2 separate regions of the Homo sapiens genome follow, and region 2 is linked to region 1. Evidence: promoter capture Hi-C in 16 types of primary human blood cells and fetal thymus (Javierre and others, 2016). All regions are on one chromosome and are shown on one strand. Each heading gives the region's core, a stretch centred on a gene start or on the middle of the fragment in contact. The rest is flanking DNA. Distances are from core to core; before and after follow the strand shown. Region 1 holds the start of NSRP1 (nuclear speckle splicing regulatory protein 1). Region 2 holds the start of CPD (carboxypeptidase D).

What was found. Contacts are between HindIII fragments. The CHiCAGO score rates a contact against its expected background, and 5 or more counts as called.
Region 2: a fragment that was not itself captured here is called in contact with the fragment with the promoter of NSRP1 in region 1 in 4 of 17 cell types (naive CD4 T cells, activated CD4 T cells, non-activated CD4 T cells and 1 more); the score reaches 8.7 in naive CD4 T cells.

Annotation. Positions count from the first base shown.
Region 1 is chr17:30,114,515-30,120,387 of GRCh38, reverse strand. It overlaps NSRP1 (nuclear speckle splicing regulatory protein 1), which reads right to left and starts at 3,572. Exons shown (of 7, transcript NM_032141.4): 1 at 3,525-3,572; 2 at 2,215-2,308. The coding sequence starts at 3,544. It overlaps MIR423 (microRNA 423), which reads right to left and starts at 3,309; the gene lies at 3,216-3,309. It overlaps MIR3184 (microRNA 3184), which reads left to right and starts at 3,228; the gene lies at 3,228-3,302. RefSeq lists silencers at 3,140-3,209, 3,146-3,747 and enhancers at 3,460-3,559, 3,590-3,689, 3,710-3,829, 2,862-4,061. The HindIII fragment of the contact is 3,145 bases long and covers 2,419-5,563 here.
Region 2 is chr17:30,377,896-30,383,768 of GRCh38, reverse strand. CPD (carboxypeptidase D) reads right to left here and starts at 4,842. Exons shown (of 21, transcript NM_001304.5): 1 at 4,043-4,842. The coding sequence starts at 4,788. RefSeq lists silencers at 4,367-4,496, 4,797-5,036 and enhancers at 4,014-4,941, 5,087-5,256. The HindIII fragment of the contact is 1,776 bases long and covers 2,359-4,134 here.

The DNA of each region.
Region 1 (5,873 bases), core at 2,323-4,822:
CCATTTGAAAATATTCTAGTTGGCTACGCAGAAATGGAGATTTAACTAGTAACCTTGATTCATTTCTTATGGTCAATTATTCTAATATTTTATGAAGAAATAAAAACAGAAAAATGGAAGAAAAACTTAAGTCACTGTTAAGGGGGAAAAAATCCATTTTAAGAAAAATGTGATTCTACAACTACATGGATAAATCTGGCATTATACTGAGTGGAGTAAGTCAGACATAAAAGAGTACATACTGTATGATTTTTTTTATATGAAATTCTGTAACAGGCAAAACTAATCTAGTGATAGAAATATGAGCATTTGTCTGGGGTAGCAAGTGGGGAGGTAGACTGACTGCAGGAGGGTATGGAAAGCCTTTTGGGAGAGAGGGAAATGTTCTAAATCTTGATTGGGGCATATACATTTGTCAAAAATCATCAAGCTGTACACTTAAAATCTGAGCATTTTATATGTAAATTATACCTCAATTTTTAAAAACTGTGAGCCATAAAGAGCCAATGTCTTCAAAAGTAGCAAAGAAATATCAAATATGTTAAATTATCCACCCATGCTATTATATAATAAAAACTGAAAACCGGTCAGGCACAGTGGGTCATGCCTGTAATTCCAGCACTTTGGGAGGCCAAGGTGGGTGGATCATCTGAGGTCAGGAGTTCGAGACCAGCCTGATCAACATGGTGAAATCCCACCTCTACTAAAAACACAAGAATTAGCCAGGCGTGGTGGTGTGTTCCTGTAATCCCTGCTACTCAGCAGGCTGAGGCAGGAGAAACGCTTGAACCCAGGAGGCGGAGGTTGCAATGAGCTGAGATCGCACCACTGCACTCCAGCCTGGGCGAAAGAGGGAGACTCCATCTCAAAAAAAAGAGGCTGGGCATGGTGACTCATGCCTGTAATCCCAACACTTTGGGAGGCCAAGGCAAGTGGATCACCTGAGGTTAGGTTCAAGACCAGCCTGGCCAACATGGTGAAACCCCGTCTCTCCTAAAAATATAAAAATTAGCTGGGCGTGGTGGTGGGGCACCTGTAATCCCAGCTACTCAGGAGGCTGAGGCAGGAAAATCTACTAAATACAAAAAATATTAAAAATACTAAAAATACAAAAAAATAAAAAAATAAAAATTAGCCAGGCATGGTGGCAGGCACCTGTAACCCCAGCTACTCAGGAGATTGAAGCAGGAGAATCACTTGAACCTGGGAGGCAGGGGTTGCAGTGAGCCAAGACTGCACCATCCCACTCTAGCCTAGGTAACAAGAGCGAAACTCTGTCTCAAAAAAAAAAAGAAAAAAAAATATTAAAACATGATGGGAGTATTGGAAAAGCACATATTTACTGGGTGCGGTGGCTTACGCCTGTAATCCCAGCACTTTGGGAAGCTGAGGCAGGCAGATCACCTGAGGTCAGGAGTTCAAGACTAGCCCGGCCAACATGGTGAGACCCTGTCTCTACAAAAATACAAAAATTAGCTGGTCATGATGGCAGGTGCCTGTAATCCCAGCTACTCAGGAAGATTAGGCAAGAGAATCGCTTGAACCCAGGAGGCGGAGGTTGCAGTGAGCCGAGATCGCGGCATTGCACTCCAGCCTGGGCAACTGAGCAAGACACTGTTTCAAAAAAAAAAAAAAAAAGAGAAAAGAAAAGCACACATTTGGGATTGTTTCTGATATATAACTGTGGGTTTCACAGAAGTAGTTTTGGCTGCTAAAATAGAAAATGTTGATATTAGATGTTACTGTAGTACTATCAAGAGTAACTATTCACTACCACGATTATAACTGAGCAATTACATTTGGCAGACACTGAATTTAAAAAAAAAGTAGCGTTGTTAAGAACTGTTATATAGTGATCTTAGCTCATGGTTAACAAATTAAAAACTGCTTTGCTAATAAAAATTTGTAGAAAATTGGTGACATCTTAATAACTCATACCTAGGGATCTTTACACCAACAATTTTGTTATGACAATTTCAGTAGTCTGAAAAGACCGTGTATTTGTTTAAAGGTAAAGTTTGCAGCTTTTAGAGGGAAAAAAATCTTTAAAAAATCGGTGGAGCTGCTTTCTTTACACCTTCCTTTTTGACAATTCTGTAAATTATACTCCACTGTACTGACAAATAACAAAGGCAAAGGTATCAGAGTCACAAGTTCAATTTTTAAAAAATTTACATTTCCAACCATGCACGAGTAAAACATAGGTTTCCTTACCTCATCATCATCATCAGAATCATTCCCAAACACTGATGGTTTTTGCAAAACAGGGTGCAACTGCTGTGTTTTCTTTGGCAAAATAAGCCCATACCTGCATATATTTTTTTTGAAATAGAAATTAAACCTTTATGTTTAAATGTTAACAAATACATCTACTACCTCTTCCACATGAAGCTACCAAATCAAAACATGTCATAAGCTTTATGAACACGTAACAGACTGTTTTTGCTTCTCAGTGATCTCAAAATTCTAACATGCCGTAAGATTCTATAATTACTACTCTAAGTGATCATTTGTGGACACGGGCCAAACTCGAATACCATTTTTATCAAAGAAGAGAAGTAAATGAAAAGTTCAGAAATGTTTTAAGATGGCGAAGTGACAGTAACATTTAAAAAAAAAAAAAAAAAACATGTGTAGTGGAAAGTTTAGTTCATGTCCACTAAAGATTTTAAAATGCTTTCAACTATCCTTGTGGTCTAAACAGTCAAGAAAATGGCTAGATTTTTTTTCCTACTGTGTACTTACACAGTTTCTAAGAACTGACTGGATAGTGTAACTCACGAAAATTTTTAAAAGATAACTGAGAAACCCAAGTAGCCATGGGGCAAGTTCGCATTACACTTTATTAAGATCATGTGCTTTGCCTCGGAGCATCTGAGAGAACCATCCCATCAGATCCAACTCCTTTAGTTTCTCACGTTTTGGCCTTTAAGATGCGGAGATCACGGGAGGCCGCATCAAAAGTAAGGATTACACATCAAAGGTAAAACTTTCAAGTACGTACAGTATTTGTCTCTTTTGCGGCAACGTATACCCCAATTTCCTATATGCCTACCCTTTTTCTGTGGCTTCTCAGAACAATATTCCTAAAACGAGAAGGAAGGGCGGGAATCAGGACTTGAGCTTCTGCCAAGGAGAACAAGGCCCTCTAAGGAAGCCAGGAACTGTCTCTCTTCACACTGCCCCTGAGAGCATCCAAGCGGGGAGAAACTCAAGCGCGGGTTAGGAAGCAAGACTGAGGGGCCTCAGACCGAGCTTTTGGAAAATAGAAAAGTCTCGCTCTCTGCCCCTCAGCCTAACTTCCTTTATTTCCTCACAAGTTTCTCCCTCAAACTTCGGGCTTCCATCCGGGAAAATGTACGGGGGAGGGGAATCTATGTTCCTCAGGACTTCTCGTTTTTTCCCGTCTCTACCCTTGACGACACAGTCCCTTCACTTCCAGCGCATTTAAAACTCCTCGGCCAAAGATACAGTCGCCGTAGTTTCTCATCCCCCAGCCTGACCCTAACTCCCGGATCACTCACTGCCTGCCCGGAATCGCCATCTTGCTCCCGTGTCCGCTGAACGTGGCCGACGCCTCCGTGACGCTGACGCCGATGTCGTCACGTAAACTCTCGCGCGGCTTTGGGTGGCCCGGATCCTGCTTGTCGGTTGAATCGCTGGTTTGAGTCACTTCTATGGTACTGGGAATCGGATCCAGTGACCTCTGTTTTGTTTCGGAGCCCACCGGCTGCCTCAAAATCTGTAGGAGAAAGGAATGACAACGTTCTAGGCCAGTTGTTCGCAGTGTGTGGTTCTGGGACCAGCGGCATCAGCAACACCGGAGATACTGTTAAAATGACAAATTCTCGGGCCCTACCCCAAACCTGCAGAATCAGAAACTTTGGAGTGAAGCGAGTTATCTGAATTTTAACCAGCGGGTAATTCTGATAAAGTTTGAAAACCACTGCCATGGCTATCGATATTCCCCCTACCCCCTTCCAAGTGTTCACTTTAACTGGTTCAGGATAATTAGGCGAAAAATGAAAATCTGTGTATTAATAATACCTTACATAGGACCAAAATTATTATTAAAAAAAAAATTTTTTTTTTGAGACGGAGTTTCGCTCTTGTTGCCCAGGCTAGAGTGCAAAGGCGCGAACTCGGTTACCTCAACCTCCGCCTCCCGGGTTCAAGCGATTCTCCTGCCTCAGCCTCCCGAGTAGCTGGGATTACAGGCATGTGCCACCACGCCCGGCTAAGTTTGTATTTTTAGTAGAGACGGGGTTTCTCCATGTTGGTCAGGCTGGTCTCGAACTCCCGACCTCGGGTGATCCGCCCGACTCGGCCTCCCAAATTGCTGGGATTACAGGCATGAGCCACCGCGCCCGGCCCAAGGACCAAAATTATTAATAATACTGTTCACGGGCCATTGGGTATAGGAATCAGGATCATATATGATACTTTTTTTTTTTTTTTTTTTTTTTTGAGACGTAGTCTCGCTCTTGTCGCCCAGGCTGGAGTGCAGTGGCATAATCTTGGCTCACTGCAACCTCCGCCTCCCAGGTTCAGGCGATTCTCCTGCCTCAGCCTCCTGAGTAGCTGAGATTACAGGCGTCCGCCACCATGCCTGGCTAATTTTTGTATTTTTTTAGTAGAGGCGGGGTTTCACCATGTTGGCCAGGCTGGTCTCAAACTCCTGACCTCATGTGACCCACCCGCCTCAGCCTCCCAAAGTGCTGGGATTACAGGCGTGAGCCACCGTGCCTGGCCCATATATGATACCTTTTTGAAAACTCTGCCCACATCTGTGCACTCATTCACTCTTGGTTCATTCCCAGCTAGTCTCAGAGCAGCCAAAGAGATCAATTACTGAGATAAGGATGTTGAAATCTCCAACTATAATTGCGAATTTGCTTCTCCTTTCAATTCTATCAGTTTGTGTCGTGTATTTTGAAATTAGGTATGTAAACATTTAGGATTGTTACGTTCTCTTGCATTAACCTCTACTAACCTCTATAGCATTAAGAAGTGGCCCTCTTTATTCCTTTATTCTTCTTTGTCTGCTTGGTCTGCTATCAATATAACTAGCTTTCTTTTGATTAATGCTAGCATAGTGTATCTTTTTCAACCCATTTTAATCTATTTGTGTATTTACATTCAAATTGGATCACTTGTTGACAGAAAATAGTTGGGTCTTGCTTTTTTATCCAGTCTGACAGTCTCTTCCATTTAATTTGGATGCTTAAAACATTTTCATTAAAGTGACTATGATTGCAGGCTGGGTGGGGTGGCTCAGGCCTGTAGTCCCAACACTTTGGGAGGTTGAGGCCAGCATGCACAACATAGCCAGACCCCATCTCAAAAAAAAAAAAAAAAAGTATGATTGCTATTTGTTTTCTATTTTTCCCAACTGTGATTCAGCTTATGATTTTCATGCTTCAGCCTCCTTTGTTGGTTTATTGACCATACTTCTTTGCTTGTTATATAAGCTGTTGCTTTAGGGTTTCTAATATATGTCTTAAACTTATCACAATCTGCCTTAAAGTAAGAATCTACCACTTTGTGTATAGTATAAGAAGCTTAGAAAAGTATACTTCCATTTTATCTCCTAGTTTTGTGCTATTGTCACTATGTCATAAATGCACAATAAATTATTTTTGCTATAAAAAGTAACTTGGTTTTTAAAAAGATTTTTTTGAATAGGAAAAATACGTTTACCCACATATTTATCATTTCTGGTGTTTCCATGTCTTTGTATAGATTCAGATTTCTATCTAGTATAATATTTTTAAAAATATTTTTAAAAAGTTTTATTGAGCGATAATTCACATATCATACAATTCATTCATTTAAAGTGTGCAATTCAGTGGGGTTTAGTATAGTCAAGTTGT
Region 2 (5,873 bases), core at 1,997-4,496, 260 kb before region 1:
GATATATAAGATTTTTCTATATGCTTGAAAAAAAAGTAAACCTATCATGTCTAATTTGAAAGACTATTTTAAGCATGATGAGTAGTATTATCCCAGAGAAGATCAAACAATGAAAATTACTTGTAACACAAAATCTGTTCATCAGAAGACAGATCTTTGCCAATAAGGACACTGATTAAACACTAGCATAGACCATGAAAAGAAACTAGCTAAAAACTAATATAATTATAATTAGCACCCTTCCAGACACCAGAGAAGAATGCCATTTGGTGTAGTGGCAATGGCACAGGCTTTGGAGACAAATTTGGGTAAGAACATTCCGTCTCCCAGATCTGTTGCTCACCAGTAATATAACATAATCAGGAGAAGTTACTGCCTTTAAATTCGCTGAACCTCAGTTTTCCTTTCATTTGTAAAATGGGGATTAATGCTACCCATTTCCCAGAGTTGTCATGAAAATTAAGATAACACACATGAAACATAATCTGGCATAAAGACTACTTTATAGCCCCTGCTCAACAAATGTTCATTTCTTTGGAGGTATCTAGCATCCTGTTTAAGGAAACACTGCCTTACAAACTATCATTCTACTCCCCACTTCCACTGCCAGTCCTTGGGTAATAGAATGATACAGAAACAAAAACTAAGTAAATATTCTAACTTTCTAACTCCACTCTAACCACCTCTCCCCTATAGCTAAGGTATTAACAATTTACTCTCTGGTTTGTAATTCTAAAACAATTTTTAAGTATTTTTCCCCCACTGACTCTGGGAAAGTTATAAGAAGGCTGGGGCAGGTCAGGTAATCCATTCGGCAACAAACATTTCTTGAGTGTCAACTATTTGCCAAATGACGTTTCAGGGACAGATACATCCCAAAGGACATTCCAGGGATAGATACATCTGTGAGCGAAACAAACAAACAAATACCCTCTGGGCATTCATATTCTAGTAAAATAAAATGGATAATTAAATATTCTAAATAAGTAAAGCATGCTACTTTAATTACACATGTTAAGTAAAACTTTAAAATCCAAGATTCTCTACAAAATGCTGTTTCTCATTTTGTTCAACATTTCTTCCAACACTTCTCAGAAATATTGTCAAAATGGCCTAATCAAATACTTTTGAACAATGAAATATTTGCAATCTACTTGAGTAATAAAATTCACTTCGATTTTCCTTACTGTAATTACACAGTTTTGAAAGTACCAGTGTCATTCTTACAATGAAGATTTCAAGAGAAAGTGACTACAATGGCTGTAAGATTATGCTTTGAGTTTTTGTCAAATCAACTTTGCAAATCAACTCCAATCTTATTTGACAGGTACTTTATGGTTTCCATTCAAATCAATTCTCTGAAATGTTTCTCATACTTGACTTCAGTATCACATATCATTCCTTGCATAAGATTTAAAGTAGCTGGTAAATATATTAGAGATATTACAAATGAGTTTATAAATATTAAACAGTTAATCTCTAAATTAACTCTATTACGCTATCCAGGTAACCCTGTAGATAACTTGAAAAAAATTAAGATAACTTGATATCTGACAAACTAAATTTCAAAGATTCAGACAATCATAGATATGTATACATAAGCCCCCAAAAAAATCATCTGCACCCACTCTCAACACTGTAATAATGCTTTTCACAAACACATTCAAATATCATTTATATGCTAATTACCTATGAAAATTTAAGCAGGTATATTCACTTAAAGAAGCATAGCGGTCAACTATAAAAAAATAGGAGTCAACTATAAAATCTTCATTTGAATGATAAAGTTAATTTTTTTATATATTTTCTTAAGTATTTGTCTCAACATCCATTGGATGAAGTATAAAGTGAAACAAAGAAAATAAACTTCATTTTCCCAAGCTGGAGGAAATTAAGCCTTAAAATTTTACATATTCGAAATAACAACAAAAATCTAATTCGAATATAGCTGGGTGAATAGGATATCAAGAAATTACTCAAATGGTTTACCTCACAAAATACACTGAAAAAGGTAGTTTTCCCATACAGACTAATGTTTGAGTATTTAAAAATATCCCATCCATAAAGTTGACACTATATTTAGGCATCAATATCAAATTGTGTGTGTGCTTGTGTTTTTAATTTTATTCACATATCAGTGTCCTTTGTTATTGGTTAATAGCACAGAGTACGCATTTTGAGTGAATTCTTGAAGACTGAGTTAGGATGGATGTACTCTTTACCATATATGATCACCTACTTTCCCTTTTGATTAATGAGAGTTACATATTTGAAGAACAGATATGATTAGGGTAGTCCACAGCCACAGACCAAAATGACTCTGTATAGCCTCAAGGCGACTTGCACCAAGAAAAAGCTTATTTTCATATTTGGTCACAGCACAACTAATACTGAAAAGAAAAATCCAGGCACAGAATTTACATCCCTGCAAGGATCACAGCATTTTAAAGGTGCAAGGACAGAGCATTTTAAACATTTAAGCAATGCAAACGGTGCATTTGTTGTATCATCTCCAAAAAGCCCTGGCCATCACAGCTCTGTCAATAAGTGTATGTCAAAGTCATATTTCTTACGCAGATGTTCAGAGGTGATGACACGATCGTATTTAAAAGAAAAAAAAATCCTCCCAGAAAGTCTATGTGAAATTATATATCTACAAGAGAGCTTATCAAGAGGAGTAAAGTAAAAGATAGAAGACGAAAAGACTCAGGAACTGTCCTAACACTCAAGAATTTTCTAGATCTTCTATATATGACTGAAATCTTGTAGAAGAAATGATTCCAAGTCCCGCAGGGAAACTTCTTTATCTTAGCAGTCCCTCAGAAATCTTCTTTTAATCCAGATGGAATGATCAGTTATTGCTTCAAAAGCCTTATGAAGATACAAAAATGGGGAAAAGCTGATGCTAGAAAAGGGGAAGAGATGCCTGCTCACTTCAGACACTATGCCATCTGGAGTGAGTTCCCTCTTATTTTATTCCTCTCCTTTTTGCTGAAAATCCTGCCCATCTCTGGAGATAGCTCAAGCTCTACCTCTTCCACAGAGATGGTCCGTGTTATTGCAGCCCACACACATCTTGCCAGTGGGAACAATTCCTGTAAAGTTTAACTGGGTACACCAACATACCTCATAAATATTTATAACATTCTCTTGTTTTATACTAATTTCTTGAGGTCCTCCTTCTTCTACTTTGTAATTTTTTAAACCTCATGCAATGCTTAATAACACTTAAAGTGTGTATTAGAAGTGTGACCATTAGCCATTCTGCCCAGGCTAATAAGGTGCACAAATGACATCACAAACCCTTCAGAGTCTAAAATGAAGCGGCTCACAGATCTGTGCAAGTTCTCCAGCTAAGTCCATATCTTCTTAAGCTGAGTCAGAGGTAAAAATTGGAGAAAAATCAGCTTCTGTCAAATAGGCAAGGGGAAGATCCTGGGAATATCATCTGCCATTTTTGGGCTCCAGTGTCCCTCCGTGGCTAAGAGGACTATCGGGAATCAGATTGCCTAATTCTAAGTCCCAGCCACACTCCTATGTAAATCAGTTAACCAATCTGACCCTCAATTTCCCCGTATGCAAAACTGATGGTGTCTATGACATCAGGTTGTGGCCAAAATAAAGTGAGATACTGCAGTCACAGAAAAAATTAGCACAGCGCCTATAACATTAGGCACTTTTGATATAAGATAACAACATTGACAGCTTATCTATAAAATGTGTGAGCTGACCTAGGTTATCCTTAAGATCTCTTCTCGCTCATATTCTATGCCCCTGTAAGAATAGGGACCAGAAATGTCAGAAAGGAGTGTCCCCTCCAGCCATCCCTTGAACAAATGACAGCCTCTAGGAGGCAATTCTTTGATGATTAGCAGGACGGGAGGCTACGCGGCCTGGGCCCTGTCCCCGTTACAGGGTGTCTCCCTTCACCTTCACCACCGCCACCCCTTATGCCAGCATTGTCTGAGCGCCTACTGGGTGCCGGAACCAGCCTCGGCCCTTGGAGGCTCACACGGACGGGGAGGGGGCAGGCAACACTCACTTGTTCCTGCGGATCCACTCGATGAGGGCGCGCACCTCGGGCACCTCGTCCAGGGCGGGGGGTTCGCCGGTGCTAAACTGGTCGGGAAAGCTTCGGTTGAGGTCGCGGCCGCGACTATTGTCGCGGCCGCTGGCCCCGGACGGGCCGCCGTCGCCGAAGCCACAGTCGCCCTCGCGGGCACGCTCGAAGCCATCGGGGTTGAGGCTGGGCAGCAGGTACACGTCGGTGGTGTTGAGCAGGCGGACCAGGCGCGGGTCCCCGCGGCGGTAGCCGGCCGCCAGCTCGCGGGCCAAGTAGATCAACACCTGGCGCGACACGGTCTCGTCGCCATGCATGTTGCCCACCAGCTTCACCTGGGGCCGGCCGGGCAGCAGCGGCCCCGCAGCGTCGGGCCCGGCAGCGTCAGGCCCCGCGTCGCCCTCAGGGATTAGCGACCCCAGGCCGGCGGTGAGGCGAAGCACCCACAGCGGCCGGCCTTCCACCGAGCGGCCGATGCTAAAGAGGCGGGCCAGGCCGGGGAGGCCCGCGGCCGCCGCCTCCCTCAGCGCCGACTCCAACTCCTCTTCGTGGTAGTAGCGGTCGAACTGGCCCTCGGCCGCCTCGGCGCCCGCGCTCGTAGTTGTGGTAGTCGCCTCCGCCTTCTTGATGTGAGCCGCCCGGGCCGAGCTCCCCAGCAGCAGCAGGCACATGAGCAACAGGAGCCGCCCTAGCCGCCAAGGCGGCCGCTCGTCCCGGCCGCTCGCCATCTTCCAGCAGCGCCGCTAACCCCGGCTCCGCTCCCGCGGCTCAGCGCTCCGGGCGGCGGGGGCCCGCCGGATCCCCTCCTCGCCTAGCAACCCCATCCCGCCCTCTGGCCGCAGCCAATCGCGGACGGGCCTGGTGGAGCGTCACCACCAGGGGGCGGGGCTTCCCTTAAAGCAGCCGATTCCCTCTGGGCGGGCCTGCCCTCCTCCCGTCCGGGACGAGTTTGGTCACTCTCTTCCTTCGCCAAGGTTCTTCTTCTCTTCTCCTCCTCCTTGTTTCGTCTTCTGCGTGTGCTCCGCTTCTCGCTTAGTCTCTTCTTTATGGCTTCTCCCCTAAATTATCACCCATTTTTCTCTGAGAACTCCTGCTAGTTCTCTTCCCATCTTTGTTGCTGCCTTTCTCAGCTGCGCTTTAATGCTTAGAACCGAGAATGGAAAGAATCAAAAGGTTCGAAAGAATCATAAGACTAGAAAAAATCAATAGGTTCGAAAGAATCTTCGTTCGGACACTCAAAGCCTTAGCCCAGTCTCCTAGGCGCCTTGTCTCCGCATCCACCCCGCCTCCGCTGGAGCCCCGCTGTCCGCGTGCGGTTGCACGGGACGCCTCGTGGGGAGGAAGGCTCGCACCTCACTAGGCGGTGCATTCATTTTTAGAGTTGCTTTCTGGAAAGGTGTCTCTTTTATGCCTAGCGGAAATGTGCTACGTAGTAGGCTCCCTTTGTGTTAATGTTGTCTATTTCTTAGGCGTCACCCCACGTTGTTTTACTGCAAATAGGTCCCTGTGTGTGCTGGCCTCGACCCTCATTAGGCAGATTTCATTTCACAGCTCACCGGCCCACTTCTCCCACCTCATCGGAGCAAGTTGTATATTTAACTGTGCCCTGGAATGACATATTTTAAAACAGCAGGTTTGACATTTCTGGAAACACTTGCTTGGCATTCCTGAACTCCTCAGTGTCAGCCAAAGATGGCAATTACAGCGTTTCATCAAGTCTAGAGAAGAGGTCTTTTAAATCACCTTTTATAGGCTTTAGTTTCTTTAGCTTGAAGAAACCCAAAACTATCCCTTAATCGAATGCGAAATTCTA